Regions from separate parts of the Homo sapiens genome. Here regions 2, 3, 4 and 5 are each linked to region 1. The links are contacts of gene promoters, found by promoter capture Hi-C in blood cells and fetal thymus (Javierre and others, 2016). All regions are on one chromosome and are shown on one strand. The core of a region is centred on a gene start or on the middle of the fragment in contact, and the rest is flanking DNA. Distances in the headings are between cores, read along the strand shown.

What was found. The method cuts DNA at HindIII sites, captures the fragments that hold promoters and counts their contacts. A CHiCAGO score of 5 or more calls a contact.
Region 2: a fragment that was not itself captured here is called in contact with the fragment with the promoter of TAS2R39 in region 1 in 1 of 17 cell types (monocytes); the score reaches 5.1 in monocytes.
Region 3: a contact is called between a fragment that was not itself captured here and the fragment with the promoter of TAS2R39 in region 1, in 2 of 17 cell types (monocytes and neutrophils). The highest score is 5.5, in monocytes.
Region 4: a fragment that was not itself captured here is called in contact with the fragment with the promoter of TAS2R39 in region 1 in 7 of 17 cell types (total B cells, naive B cells, M2 macrophages and 4 more); the score reaches 10.4 in total B cells.
Region 5: a fragment that was not itself captured here is called in contact with the fragment with the promoter of TAS2R39 in region 1 in 4 of 17 cell types (naive B cells, neutrophils, total B cells and 1 more); the score reaches 6.5 in naive B cells.

Annotation. Positions count from the first base shown.
Region 1 is chr7:143,181,994-143,184,770 of GRCh38, forward strand. It overlaps TAS2R39 (taste 2 receptor member 39), which reads left to right and starts at 1,426. Exons shown (of 1, transcript NM_176881.2): 1 at 1,426-2,442. The coding sequence starts at 1,426. The coding sequence ends at 2,442. The HindIII fragment of the contact is 8,536 bases long and covers 1-2,777 here.
Region 2 is chr7:142,956,302-142,959,078 of GRCh38, forward strand. KEL (Kell metallo-endopeptidase (Kell blood group)) reads right to left here. Exons shown (of 19, transcript NM_000420.3): 5 at 2,003-2,127; 6 at 1,526-1,672. Among named protein-coding and RNA genes, the nearest start is that of KEL, 4.7 kb to the right of the region's middle. RefSeq lists an enhancer at 1,477-2,192. The HindIII fragment of the contact is 585 bases long and covers 1,086-1,670 here.
Region 3 is chr7:142,982,020-142,984,796 of GRCh38, forward strand. No RefSeq gene overlaps it. Among named protein-coding and RNA genes, the nearest start is that of KEL, 21 kb to the left of the region's middle. The HindIII fragment of the contact is 1,891 bases long and covers 469-2,359 here.
Region 4 is chr7:142,999,453-143,002,229 of GRCh38, forward strand. No RefSeq gene overlaps it. Among named protein-coding and RNA genes, the nearest start is that of OR9A2, 26 kb to the right of the region's middle. The HindIII fragment of the contact is 1,734 bases long and covers 558-2,291 here.
Region 5 is chr7:143,041,373-143,044,149 of GRCh38, forward strand. No RefSeq gene overlaps it. Among named protein-coding and RNA genes, the nearest start is that of OR6V1, 9.6 kb to the right of the region's middle. The HindIII fragment of the contact is 4,130 bases long and covers 1-2,777 here.

The sequences.
Region 1 (2,777 bases), core at 176-2,675:
AAAACCAAACTGGAGGTCCTGAGATACTCCAGGCCTACTTGTGCAAATGGGTAGAAACAAGCAGAGAGGAGCAGTTGTCTATTACGCTGTATTCAAGGGAAATATTTGTTCAGGAATAGTGATTTTCAAATGAGATGGTAAAATTCGTAACAACTCATCTAAAATCATTAATCAAGCCAGAAAACGTTTATGAGTTCTTGCCTTGTTTTTAAAAGGCTTTAAGTAAAAACCAAATGTTATAAAGATTTTCTGAGACTTCTCACCCACCAACTTTCTCTTTATTAGAATTATTACTTCATCATTATTTTAAAGTTACATACATTCATAAAAATTAATTTACCCTGAAATGAAAAGTCCATTTTATCATTATGTGTCCTATGCTTGCGTTTTAAAATCAGAAAAAAATTCCTTAAGATAAAAGTGATTCTTTTTTCCTTTCTTTTTGTTTTAATATTCCAAAATTGGATGAATTGGGACATTGCTTTTATTCTCAGGTTCGCTAGCTTACCTTGCTAGGAACTAGGGAGTTTTACCTTCAACTCTTATTTTCCTAGTTTTGCTTAAAATGAAAGGTGAATATGTGTGTGTGTGTGTGTGTGTGTATGATCTTTTATGTATAATTAAATTTATTACCTCTCAAGTAATCTACTTTGAAAAGAGAGTCCTATCTCTTAAAAATCAGTGTCTTCTTGCTTTATTGATTTTTCTTTAGAGGGTGGGGACATAAAAGGCTACCAGGAAAAAAATGTCATAGTGGAATCAACCCTGCATTTAGTCTTGGGCACACAAAAGAATCCACAGGTCTAGGTAGCATAACATGGTGGATAAGAGGAGGAACTCTGCGACCAGGTGACTTGGGTTTGAATCCCAGTTCTATCACGCTCTAGTTGTGTGATGTTGGCCAAGTTATTTAACCTCTGTATGCCTTAGTTTCTTCATCTGCAAAATGGAGGTAATAGAAGCACATGCTCATAAGGTTGTTGTGAGGTTTAAATGTAGTAATTATAAATAAATCATTTGAAAATTTCTTAGCACAAAATGAGAAGTGCGTGTGTGTGTGTGTATGTGTGTAGCAGTTTTTATTTTCAATCATTTTCTGCAGTCACAAGTGAAAGTAAGTTAAATGATGACTCAGTTAACCAATGTTCAAATTAACTGATGCTACCAAAGAACACGGACCTCAGTACCATGTTAGCTGCTTTTAAAGAGTCTACTCAAGCGCTTCCCTGGGCCTCATTATTGAACCACTACCAACATGTTCAAAAATAGAGAGAGGATTAGAAACCAAATCCTTCCAACATTTGCATCTCTAGATGTAGAGCTAAGAATTCTGAAATAAACAAATGCAGTGAATTTGGAAATGATACATCAATTGCTTCCTCCTATGACATCAATACTGGGAGTTATCAAGAGTCTGCCCATCAAATGCTAGGGAGATGTTTTCCTCCAGACACCAAAGAGAAGCAACAGCTCAGAATGACTAAACTCTGCGATCCTGCAGAAAGTGAATTGTCGCCATTTCTCATCACCTTAATTTTAGCAGTTTTACTTGCTGAATACCTCATTGGTATCATTGCAAATGGTTTCATCATGGCTATACATGCAGCTGAATGGGTTCAAAATAAGGCAGTTTCCACAAGTGGCAGGATCCTGGTTTTCCTGAGTGTATCCAGAATAGCTCTCCAAAGCCTCATGATGTTAGAAATTACCATCAGCTCAACCTCCCTAAGTTTTTATTCTGAAGACGCTGTATATTATGCATTCAAAATAAGTTTTATATTCTTAAATTTTTGTAGCCTGTGGTTTGCTGCCTGGCTCAGTTTCTTCTACTTTGTGAAGATTGCCAATTTCTCCTACCCCCTTTTCCTCAAACTGAGGTGGAGAATTACTGGATTGATACCCTGGCTTCTGTGGCTGTCCGTGTTTATTTCCTTCAGTCACAGCATGTTCTGCATCAACATCTGCACTGTGTATTGTAACAATTCTTTCCCTATCCACTCCTCCAACTCCACTAAGAAAACATACTTGTCTGAGATCAATGTGGTCGGTCTGGCTTTTTTCTTTAACCTGGGGATTGTGACTCCTCTGATCATGTTCATCCTGACAGCCACCCTGCTGATCCTCTCTCTCAAGAGACACACCCTACACATGGGAAGCAATGCCACAGGGTCCAACGACCCCAGCATGGAGGCTCACATGGGGGCCATCAAAGCTATCAGCTACTTTCTCATTCTCTACATTTTCAATGCAGTTGCTCTGTTTATCTACCTGTCCAACATGTTTGACATCAACAGTCTGTGGAATAATTTGTGCCAGATCATCATGGCTGCCTACCCTGCCAGCCACTCAATTCTACTGATTCAAGATAACCCTGGGCTGAGAAGAGCCTGGAAGCGGCTTCAGCTTCGACTTCATCTTTACCCAAAAGAGTGGACTCTGTGACCAGCACCCAAGAAGACCACAGGACCTGGCCTTACCAGCTCTGCCATTCCCTCACCTAGACCTCTCTTTTCTCTCTTCTTTTCTTCTCCAACCCTCATCTGACCCTTTTCGCCTGATGTGGCTTTTTATATAGGAAATTGATCATTTCTTTTTTGCTTCATGGGTACAATCTTAGTGGTACTGTCATATTCTTTACCTGAGCCCTCTACCTCCCCTTGCTCTGTTTAAAGCAGTGATTCTAAGCACTGGCTACCCATTAGAATCTCTAGGTTGATTTTTGAAAATACCAATGTTCAAACCCAATCTCAGATCTATTAAGTCAGAATTTCTAGTGT
Region 2 (2,777 bases), core at 128-2,627, 230 kb before region 1:
CTCAGGGCCTCAAAAATGCTCATTTAGTTTCCTCAACACCCCCAGACTGACCTTCAAAACTGCTGACTCTACGCACAACCATCAAAATACTTGCTCTATGCACAATTGTCATAAGAGTTGGATGGCCTCAGTAGCTCTTTTTTTTTTTTCTATTATGTCAAATGTTTCACCTTCGCCTGGCTTCTTAGAAATAATCAGGCTCAACCTTATGTCTTCAGTCTCACTTTTACCTCCCACTGCACCCCACCTTGCCTCCCAAATCCTCAATTAAATAGATCAGCCTCCTCACTGACTCCACGAAGGAATCACACCATTCCAGGTCCTCCCCCTGGCTCAGCATTTCCAACGCCCCATAGCTTCACCTCCACTTGTGTGAATTAACCATGTTTCAAGGCTGGCTTAGCTCACCTTCTCTCATTCTCTCCTCTCTGAGCCTCTCCTTAACCAGATCTTAACCGGCCCCTAAAGGCCACATCAGTTAAACTCCTGAGCAGACTGTTTAAAACTAAATTTTAGAACACCTCATAATGATAATCAATTCTTCTTTTGTACTTATCCTTTGGTAATTTTGTGGCTCTTTTGACAGTAGGGCCCAAATATGCAGATAGCATTACATTGTTTAACCACAAGAGTGATAGCTCCAGTGTTTTTATTTAGTTACTCACTCACTACAAATACCTGGCAAAACTTCTAGCTGCCTGGCCCTGTGATAGGTCCTGAGAAACAAAGGTGAATAAAGCATGGTCCTGTTCTAAAGAGGCTCACAATCTTCAACACAGAGTGATAAATGCTGAGAGCATGAGGAAACGAAAGTAGGGAGAGCAGGGCTTCACCTAACTCATAACTAGGGTGTCGGTGAAGACTTCCTGGAAGAGATAATAAAGCCAACATTTGAAAAACATGTAAGTTTTCCAGGTTCAGTGTGGGGGATGGTTGCAGGCACAGGGAGCAGCATAGGCAAAGAACTGAGGAATATTCCTGGAAGCAGCAGTGAGTCAGCATGGCTTGGGGGTAAGGGAGAGAAGGAATGTACGGGAGATAAGGCTGGAGAAGTGTGTAGGGGTCAGATCACAAGGTGCTTGCAAAGCTTTACTAAAGATTAGGGACTAGATTCTGATGACCTGGCAAGCCACTGGGTCACTGACAAGCATTTAAATACAGACAGTAGCATAGTTAGTTAGCCCTTGGTTTAGAAAAGTTCCCTCTAGTAAAAATAAAGAGTAAATAAAATGAGGGCAATCCTAGAGATAGGAGGACTGGTTAAGGGGCTCTGAGACTAATCCAGATTAACAGTAAGAAAGACCAGGCCTACTTCTGTCTTCCCAGCACTGGCTCTGCTGCTCCATTTCCCACCCCCAGCTAATGTCCCTGACTTTCACATCAATAATTTTCCCTTAAGGTAGGGTTGTTTCCTATATCACACAGGTGTCCTCTCTTCCCAACCTGCAACCTTCCTCTAAGGGATGATTGGCTAGAGTTGGAGGCAGGCCAGGTCCAACTGTGTCTTCGCCAGTGCATCCCTCACCTGGATGACTGGTGTGTGTGGAGAGGCAGGATGAGGTCCTAGGTAGGCTCTGAAGAAAGGGAAATGGCCATACTGACTCATCAGAAGTCTCAGCGTTCGGTTAAAGTTTAAGGAAGTCCATTTACCAGAGATGCGCCAGCCTCCAAGCTTTAAAGGAGAGAGAGGGGGCTGAGCATAAGGATCCGTGGAGCCCATCCCCCATTGTCTGGATCGGCTCTTACACAGCTGCTACTGCCTGACCTCTGCCCTGCGCCCTTCGATTCCTCTAGGAAGCCACATCTATCCTTTTTTATCTGCCTTCTCCCAAGGTCCTGATACTTTCATAGGGCATAACCATTTCCATCTCCATCTCCCTCCTAGAAATTGGGGGGCCCTAGGAAGAAGACCCACCCTCTAGAAAAAAAAATGGCAGCCCTAAGCATGCATTGGTCCCATATGTTATGTATCCAGAAAAGTTAATATCCCAACTTTTCTCACCTCCTCAATAACTTGTCTGAGGGGACCAGTCCCTGCAGCTTCAATGGCAAGTGTATCCATGCAGGAGTTGTAGAACTGGAAGGCTTTCTCCTCCCCAGAGCCTGGGTGCCAGGAATTCTGGACCTCTAGAAAGGAAGCATGGGAGTGAGGACTAAACTCTGATTTTTTTTATCTTGCCCCAAATTCCTATCAAAGGGGTCTGGGGAGTCATGCCCTATATCATAAGTTCTCATCAGATGGGTTTTATTTAACCCATGTAACATGATTTACTTTCTAACCTGATTCTGGCATAACATTACGAGACAAAGAAGAAAACAAAAATATTTTACCCCAAAACATGTTTCTTTGCCACATTTTGAAATGGCCCTGCAAAGCTGTTCTTTGTGGAGGAAAATTTGCATCTGTAAAGCATCTCTATTAGCTATTAACATATCTCATTAACATAGCTAGATCTTTTGATTAACTAAGATCTGAATAGGAAACATTTGTCACCTATTGTCTCTAAGGGCAGCCACTATAAGACTTCAAAAGAACTTCGGTCTCCGCAATCTTTATCTTACCCTGAACATTCCCTTTCTATCTATCCCAGATCTTTAGACAAACTCAAGCAACTGTCAATCCGGAAATGTTTAAATTCACCTGTACCCTGGAAGCCACCCCCACCCCTTTGAGTTGTTCCACCTTTCTGGACCAAACCAATGTATTTCTTAAATGTATTTGATTGATGTCTCATGACTCTCTAAAATGTATAAAACCAAGCTGTGCCCCAGCCACC
Region 3 (2,777 bases), core at 164-2,663, 200 kb before region 1:
GTTGGTTTAAAGTCTGTTTTGTCAGAAACAAGGATTGCAATCCCTGTTTTTTTCTGTTTTCCATTGTCTTGGTAGACTTTTCTCCATCCCTTTATTTTGAGCCTATGTATGTCATTGCATGTAAAATGGGTCTCTTGAAGACAGCATACCAATGGGTCATAGTTCTTTTATCCAGCTTCCAGTCTTTTAATTAGGGTATTTAGCCCATTTACTTTTAAGGTTAATGTTGATATGTATGAATTTGATCCTTCCATCATGATGTTAGTTGATTATTTTGCTGACTTGTTTATGTGGTTGCTTTATAGTGTCACTGGTCTGTGTACTTCATTGTGTTTTGTAGGGGCTGGCAACAGTCTTTCCTTTCCATATTTAGTGCTTCCTTCAGGAGCTCTTGTAAGTCACATCTGTTGGTAACAAATTCCCTCAGCATTTGCTTGTCTGGAAAGGATCTTATTTCTCTGCTTATGAAGCTTAGTTTAGCCAGATATGACATTCTGGTTTGGAATTTCTTGCCCCCAATCTCCTCTGGCTTGTAAAGTTTCTGCTGAGAGGTTCACTGTTTTGTTTTGTTTTGTTTTTGAGATGGAGTCTTGCTCTGTTGCCCAGGCTGGAGTGCAGTGGTGCAATCTCGGCTCACTGCAGCCTCTGCCCCCCCAGGTTCCAGTGATTCTCCTGCCTCAGCCTCTTGGGTAGCTAGGATTACAGGTGCACACCACCATGCCCAGCTAAATTTTATATTTTTAGTAGAGATGGGGTTTTGCCATGTTGGCCAGGCTGCTCTTGAACTCCGGACCTCAGGTAATCCACCTGCCTTGGCCTCCCAAAGTGCTGGGATTACAGGCATGAGCCACCGCACCCAGCCAAGAGGTCCACTGTTAGTCTGATGGGATTCACTTTGTAGGTGACCTGACCTTTCTCTATAGCTGCCTTTAACATTTTGACCTTGGAGAATCTGATGATTACACGTCTTGGGGATGTTCTTCTTGAGTAGCATCTTACTGGAGTTTTCTGCATTTCCTGAATTTGAATGTTGGCCTCTCTAGCTAGGTTGGAGAAGTTCTCAAGGATTATATCCTGAAATACATTGTCTAAGTTGGTTCCATTCTCCCCAGTGTCTTTCAGGGACAATGATGAGTTACTCAATCTCTTTACGTAATCTTATATTTCTCAGAGGTTTTGTTCATTCCTTTTCATTCTTTTTTCTCCATTTTTGTCTGACTATCTTATTTCAGAAAGCCAGTCTTCAAGTTCTGAGATTCTTTCTTCCACATGGTCTATTCTTCTACTAATACTTGTGATTACATTATGAAATTCTCATAGTGTGTTTTTCAGCTCTATCAGCTTAGTTATATTCTTTTCTATACTGGCTATTTTGTCTGTCAGCTCCTGCATTGTTTTATCATGGTTTTCAGCTTCCTTGAATTGGGTTTCAACATATTCTTGTATCTCAATGATCTTCATTTCTATCCATATTCTGAATTCTATTTCTGTCATTTCATCCATGGCAGCCCAGTTCAGAATGCTTGCTGGAGAGGTGATGTGGTCATTTGGAGGAAAGAAGGGACTGCAGTTTTTCTTTTATTTTTATTCAAGTTTTGAGTGTTCTTCCATCAGGTTTTTTTTCTCATCTTTGTGGGCTTATCTACCTTCAATCTTTGAGGTTGTTGACCTTTGGATTTTTTTTTTTTTAAAACCTATTTGATGACCTTGAGGGTCTGATTGTGGTATAAGGTGGGTTCAGTGAACTAGCTTCATTTCTGAAGGATTTTAGGAAGCCAATGCTTAGCTCCAACTCCTATACTGTGTTCTCTAACTGGAGGACTTGCATTAGGCCCCAGTTTTGTTCTCTGGCTCTTTGAGGCATGGCATGCAGTGTGCTGGTGGTGGGGGTAGTGCAGTGAGGTGCAGCAGCTGTGGCAGAGTGCTAGTGGGTGCCAAGTGCCTGCCTCCTTGCAGTTGTTCACCACAGTGACAGAGGCAATGCAGCTGGGGTGGGGGACAGTGGGGTGAGGCACCCTGCTGGACACTGTGTATAGTTGCACTGGAGGTAGTGTTGGGTCTGGTGTGGGGTGTTGGCTGGTGCAGGGTGCCTTCTCTATGCCCCACAAGCAGGAGTGATTGTTCAGGGTGGAGGAGGATGTGCTGTTCTCTGCACAGTGTTAGTTCGGGGCCAGGCACTGGCAGGGGTGGGGCTTCTGACTCTGTGCCCACCAAGGTTCCATCTGCAATGGCAGCCTGCAAAGGGAAGTAGAGCAGACTGCTCTCCCCTCCACTGACAGGGCAAAGAAAACAAACCCCTTCCACTCATGTTGGCATGTGCCAGCAAAGTGATGTGGGGAGTTGCTATGTGCCTGGAGGAAGCTTCAGTATGGGAGGGAATGGTAGGCTTGTGTGTGGCCATGGAGCCACCCAGCTGGAGCTGTCCACTGATGAGGCACAGTCCACCAGCACAGAAGCTATTGTGGTGGGCCCCCAGGGCACTGGAGATTGCCCTGCAAGAAGGTGTGGCCTGGCTAGGGCCCTAGGAGAGGCCAGTAGACCAAGGGGTGTTCAGGTTGGACCAGCCTGGTCTGATGGGCAAGACCATCCTGAAAGATCAGGTCCGACAGTTCCCCTAGGGTTAAAGTCTCCTATGGGAGCAAGTCAGGCCTGGGGGATGGCCATCCCTGGAGGTGCACCACTGCAGACACTCCCACATCAAACCCTCAGGCTCCACATCAGCTGGCTTGCTGCCTGTACCGCTTCTCTAAGTAGTGCTCCCTGCCAACTCGAGTGTC
Region 4 (2,777 bases), core at 175-2,674, 180 kb before region 1:
CAATTTTTGATACTGATGTTTTCATTTGTGTTCAATAGAAAAAGAAATCTCTGACCAATTACTCTGGCATTTGGTGATATCTTCAGTTAAGCATTTAAAAATATACTCCAAAACACCACCAACCTGAAATGTGTTATTCCATTTTCCAGAGACTCTAAGTTTTAGACTTAATCATCAAAAGTTTTTATATTTTATTTAAATGTTAGGCATGAAAATCAGTCTTAATAGATTCTATTGAGCATACCTGAATGTCTTCTTGGTTTCTCAAGACGATCATTAGGATGCCACTGTCATATATACATGATCTCAGAGAAGGTTTGCTCCTGCACTAAATGAACAAAAATGTCTTAAGTCCTTTGGTCAGCTTTGTACAGTTGGTTTTTAATTTCTCTCAACATGTCTCTTGATTGAGAGCTAACACACTGCTTGTTGTTTTCAGTAGACCTGTCTTTTCTTATCTCCTTTCTATGAGTAAATCATTTTATCAAGCTTATTTCCAATAAATAAACAAACAGATAAAAGGGACTCTAACAGACTTCCTGTGAGTAAAGTGGCTAAGCTTTATGTGGTTCATGGACTTTGTAACATTTATTTTGTCTGCTTGCTGGTTTATTTTGCTATTTTCTGATTCCTAGCTATGTTCTAGAAAGACTACATAGTTGAGTTTTGGATTAATAAGATATATATGTTAATTATAACACTTAGAGAATCAGGATCATATAGTACCCCAAATACAGATGTTTTTAAAAGTGCCAGAATATCAAAAGAAGATATAACTATATTCAAATATTAAAGCATCAAAGCATAATATACTTCCATGGTTCAAAATTTTAAAGGATACTTTGAAACACTTTTCTATCTGATCCTCCTCCCTCAAGGCAACCAATGTTATCACTTTCTTCTGTGTCTTTACAGAGGTAATTTTAAGCATATACGTCTGCATAAGCAAATGCATACAAGCACATTTTCTTTTTGTACAAATGGTAGTATATCGAACATATGTCCTATGCAGTACAGATCATTGTATATTTATACATAAGACATTCTTGGTTCTTGTTTCCTTTTTTAATAACTCCAGATTATTCCACCAAATGGAATACATACATTATTTCCCTGTACACAATATCTAAATGACAATTTCTAGAAGAGGAATTGCTAGGCCAAAGCGTAAAAGCATTTGTCACTTTAATATATATTACATAATTGCCCTTCATGCAGGCTATTACATTTTACACTACCTATTTTCACGCAGTGTACTATAAAACTTTTTGACATTTGCCAGTTTAATAACTGAAAATAGTATCTTAATATGGCTTTAATTTTTATTGTTCTCCTTATGAATGAAGATGAAAATATTCTCACATGTGCTTATCTTTTGCCCATTTTTCTGCTGAGTAGTTTTATTTTTTTCTTATAGGAGCTTTTTACACATGATGCAAACTAACCTTTTGTGATATGAGTTGAAATTGTTTTCTGGTGTTTTCGTGTGTCTGTTTACCTTGGGGTAGTATTAACCATAGCAAATTTTTAAAAAATTCTTCATAAAGTCAATCTTCTATGACATCTGTGTTTTAAGTCATCCTAAGAAAGGTCTTACCCATTTTTATAAACATTCTTTTATTTCTTATGTTAAATCTATGTTTTTTTTTTACATTTAAATATTTGACCCATTTTAAACAGCCTGGTATGACATAGGCAGTAATGGAATTAACTTTTGTTTTTTAGGTAGCTGCTAGTTTGTTTGACCATTTATTGAATAATTCATTTTTTCCCAATGATAGTACTGTTTACATTATAGCTATATAGTCTGTTTTACAGATGTAGTTATTCCTCATTATGCTTCTATTTCAGAATGTTTTTGAAAATTTTTTGCTTGTTTATTTTTCCATAATAAAAAGTTTAATCTAAGCTGGGCACGATGGCTCACATGTGTAATCCCAGCTATTCAGGCGGCTGAGGTGGGAGGATCACTTGAGTCCAGCAGTTCAAGTCTGTAGTGAGCTATGATCATGCCACTACACTCCAGCCTGGCTGACAGAGCAAGACTCTGTCTCTAAAAATATAAATGAATGAAATAATGCATGAATAAAATGTAATCTGCTTCTCTAGATTTAAAAAATACTATTGATTTTTAAATTGTGATTGTATCATTTTTATGGATACACTTAGAGGAGAATTGATATCTTTGTATTGTTTACTCCACCTTTCCATTTGCTCAAATCTACTTTTGTGTCTTTCAGGAGCATTTTTTTAAATGTCAATCTAGTTTAAATGTAAATCTTTACTTGTTAAGCTTATTCCTAATAATGTTATATTTCTTTGCTTTTGCTTTTGTAAATGAGGTTCTTTCCTTCCATTATATTTTCTAACTTAATGTGTTTTATATGTGAAGTCTTTTGACTCTCAATATAAATTTTGTGCCCAGCCACATTGGTTTTTTACTTTATTTTGTTGAGATTTCCAGATAAACAAATTATTTAAAATTCATGTTAATCTTTTTTTCTCCTCCTTTTTAACATCTTGGCCCTGCATTTTTTTTCTCTTGTCTAATTGCATAGGCTAACATGCCAGAAATTTTAATTAGTTTACATAGAGATGCAGTACATAAATTTAAATTGAAGATCTGTCATTACATAAGACAAAGGGTATGTGTGTTATTATTTATTTTAGATTGGTCCATCCTCTCACCAGGAGCTCAGGCAGCTGTTAAACTCTGGAAAGAGGGCCTAAAAAAGATAGGGGTATGGATAATGGAAGCCCTGCATAAATTCTAAGCA
Region 5 (2,777 bases), core at 120-2,619, 140 kb before region 1:
ATACTGCTGCCCTGGGCTGTATAGGGAGAAACAGTAAGTCTCTTCATCACAGACTCAATGAAAGTTGCTGACAGATTCTAACTTGTGGAGTCACTTGCAAAGCAGGGCCAGGGTTGCTTGCCCCATTCCCAAGGGGCTTATGTCTCCGTGTCAAAATCTGGGTACCACAGTCAGGAAGCCGCCGAAGTAAATGACCTAATAAGAAAAGCTCGCCATGCTGGACTTATGAATTAAGATGCATTGGCTGGGTCTGGAGAATGAATGAGTTATAAGGATTCGGTTTCGGTTAGTCAAGATGAGTTTAGACTTGGCATTAAGATTAGTGAGAGGGTTGCATGCTTACTGCTTAGGGAGATAGATCCACTTCTGTGATTAGATGTCATTGCTGATGGCCAGGATACAGTTCTAGGAAATACCTGTGGTTCCAGAGAGACAGCTAACATGTGTCTTCTCAGGGCTTCATTTGTGTGCTCTCATTTCTGATTTTATTTACTACTTATGGATCTCTAAAGGTATTCATTCAGTTAACTATAATTAAAGTGTGCAGCCAGCACACTGCTGGACCCATACATAGATGCATCAACACACACACACACACACACACACACACGCACACACACAAACCCATCACCTTCACGTTAAAGAAGTGTGGTTGGCGGTTGGGTTAGAAGGGGAGATGATGAGAATGAAGTTTCCATGCCAATAACAACAGCGGAAACTGCTGTTATTGAACTCTTCCTATGTGGCAGCCATAATCCAATTTGATGCTCACGCTAGCTCTACTATTTTTTATCTTACATCTGGGGAAAATTCCACTCCAAGAGGATTAGTATCAGCCCAAGGTCATACAACTGGCAATTCACAGGGCCAGGATATAAACCTAGACGGTCCAAGGTCTGTGCCGTCAGCCCCCATACAAGAGTGAGTCATGTCAGGGAAGGGTGGTCCACTAGGATAGTCACAGCATTTTAAGAAGCAGAGCTAGAAGTCCAGTGCAATCCACATACCACACACATCTTTCAGGGACTGTCAGAGCAGCAGCATCCAATGGGTCTTGCCTGGATTCCAGAGCTTGAATCTAAATATCTTGATTCCCTTTCTGCCTTCAGCCATTGTAAACATGTAGCAGATGGTCACCCCAAAGGGATCTTATTGTCTCTCTGTTCTGGCTCCCCTTGCTTCCTGAATTGAATGGCTTTGCTGCTGCTGCTGAAAGCTGGAAATATGTGGCTGAGTGAGAGTTCTCAGCAGAGGGGCATCTAGAAAGCCTCACAGGGGTGCTTTAGACTGGCTTCTGTGCTCAGCCTCTGGCCATGCTCAGTCCCGTGTCCTGCCTGCCTTTCCTCCCTCCTTCTGCTCACAATTTCTGCTTTTCTTTGTCACTTCTGCTGCTTCTCTTGGGTTACCTTTTATTCCTTCTAGCTTTCTGTCTGCATTCCTGGGCCTCCTGTGTCTCTCTGTCTCTCACTTTCTCTCCATTACTGCTTTTCTAACACCTCGCCTCTCTGGTTTTGTGTTTCTCGCATCCACACTGGCTCTCTCCTGTGAACCTTGGCCTTTCTTTATCTCTGACCACAAAGGTACATAGGGCTTAACACAGAAACGATGAAAGGAAACTTAAGGGATTAGAATGTAACACTAACAACATCTGCTACAGCAAGGTCACGCTGAAGTCACCAATAACTCAAATCTTTCAACGGCTTTTAACAACTATGTTTGTTTCTCACTCATGCCATGCGCCCATCACTAGCCAGGAAGTAGACTCTGCTCATTATTATACTGTAGGGACTGGAGCAGTAGAAAGCTCCCTTTAAACACATTCTTCCATGATCTCAGATGTGGAGAAAAAGGGAATGTGACTCAAATGCCAACCCTTAAAGCTCTTGCTATGAAGTGACTCTCATTACTTCTACCCATATCTCACTGGCTGAAGAAAATCACTCGACCACTCCTGAATTAATGGAGCAAAAATATGTGATATTCCCACTGGGAGGGTCACCTCCAGGAAGGACAACAAATATGAGTGAACAATTATTTGTCCATTATAAACGTCTGGGTTTCTGTTTGTTTGTTTGTTTTACTTATTCTCTTCCTCATGAATTTTGGGTTTAGCTTATCAAATAATGTAAGTAATTTCAGTTTCACAGTTTCTGTCACTGCTGAGCTACAGAATATCTGAAACAGTCATAGCATTACTATTCTTGGCATGATATAGAGGGAAAGGACAGTGTGTGAAGTGGGTGAAATCAGAGCTTCGGTCTCAGGCCCCAACATGTGATGACTGAGAAACACTGACATTTACTTAAGCTCTGTGAGATTCTACATTGTTATCTAAAAACTGAATATAATAATTCTCCCTCACAGGTTAACTCCAGAATAAATCTGTAGTCATTACATGTGATTTTTTTCTCCTATGTCTCTCATATTCTTCTCATTCAATCAGCAAGATATCTTTTATATAATCAATATAAATCAATAAGCAATGTAATGATATACAAGTTTGGATTATGTTTAGGTTGGTGAGACAAAATGACATAAAAATTAAGAGCAGAGTCTTTGGGATCAGATCTGATTCAAATTCAAACTCTACCATGCAGTAGCTGGTGTTAGTAGCTACTATCAATGTTTTTGTTTGTTTGTTTTGTTTCTTTTCTTTTGAGACAGGGTCTACCTCTGTCACACAGGCTGGAGTGCAGTGGTGCAATCATAGCTCACTGCAGAACTCCCAGGCCCAAGTGATCCTCCCACTTCAGCCTCCTGAATAGCTGGGGCTACAA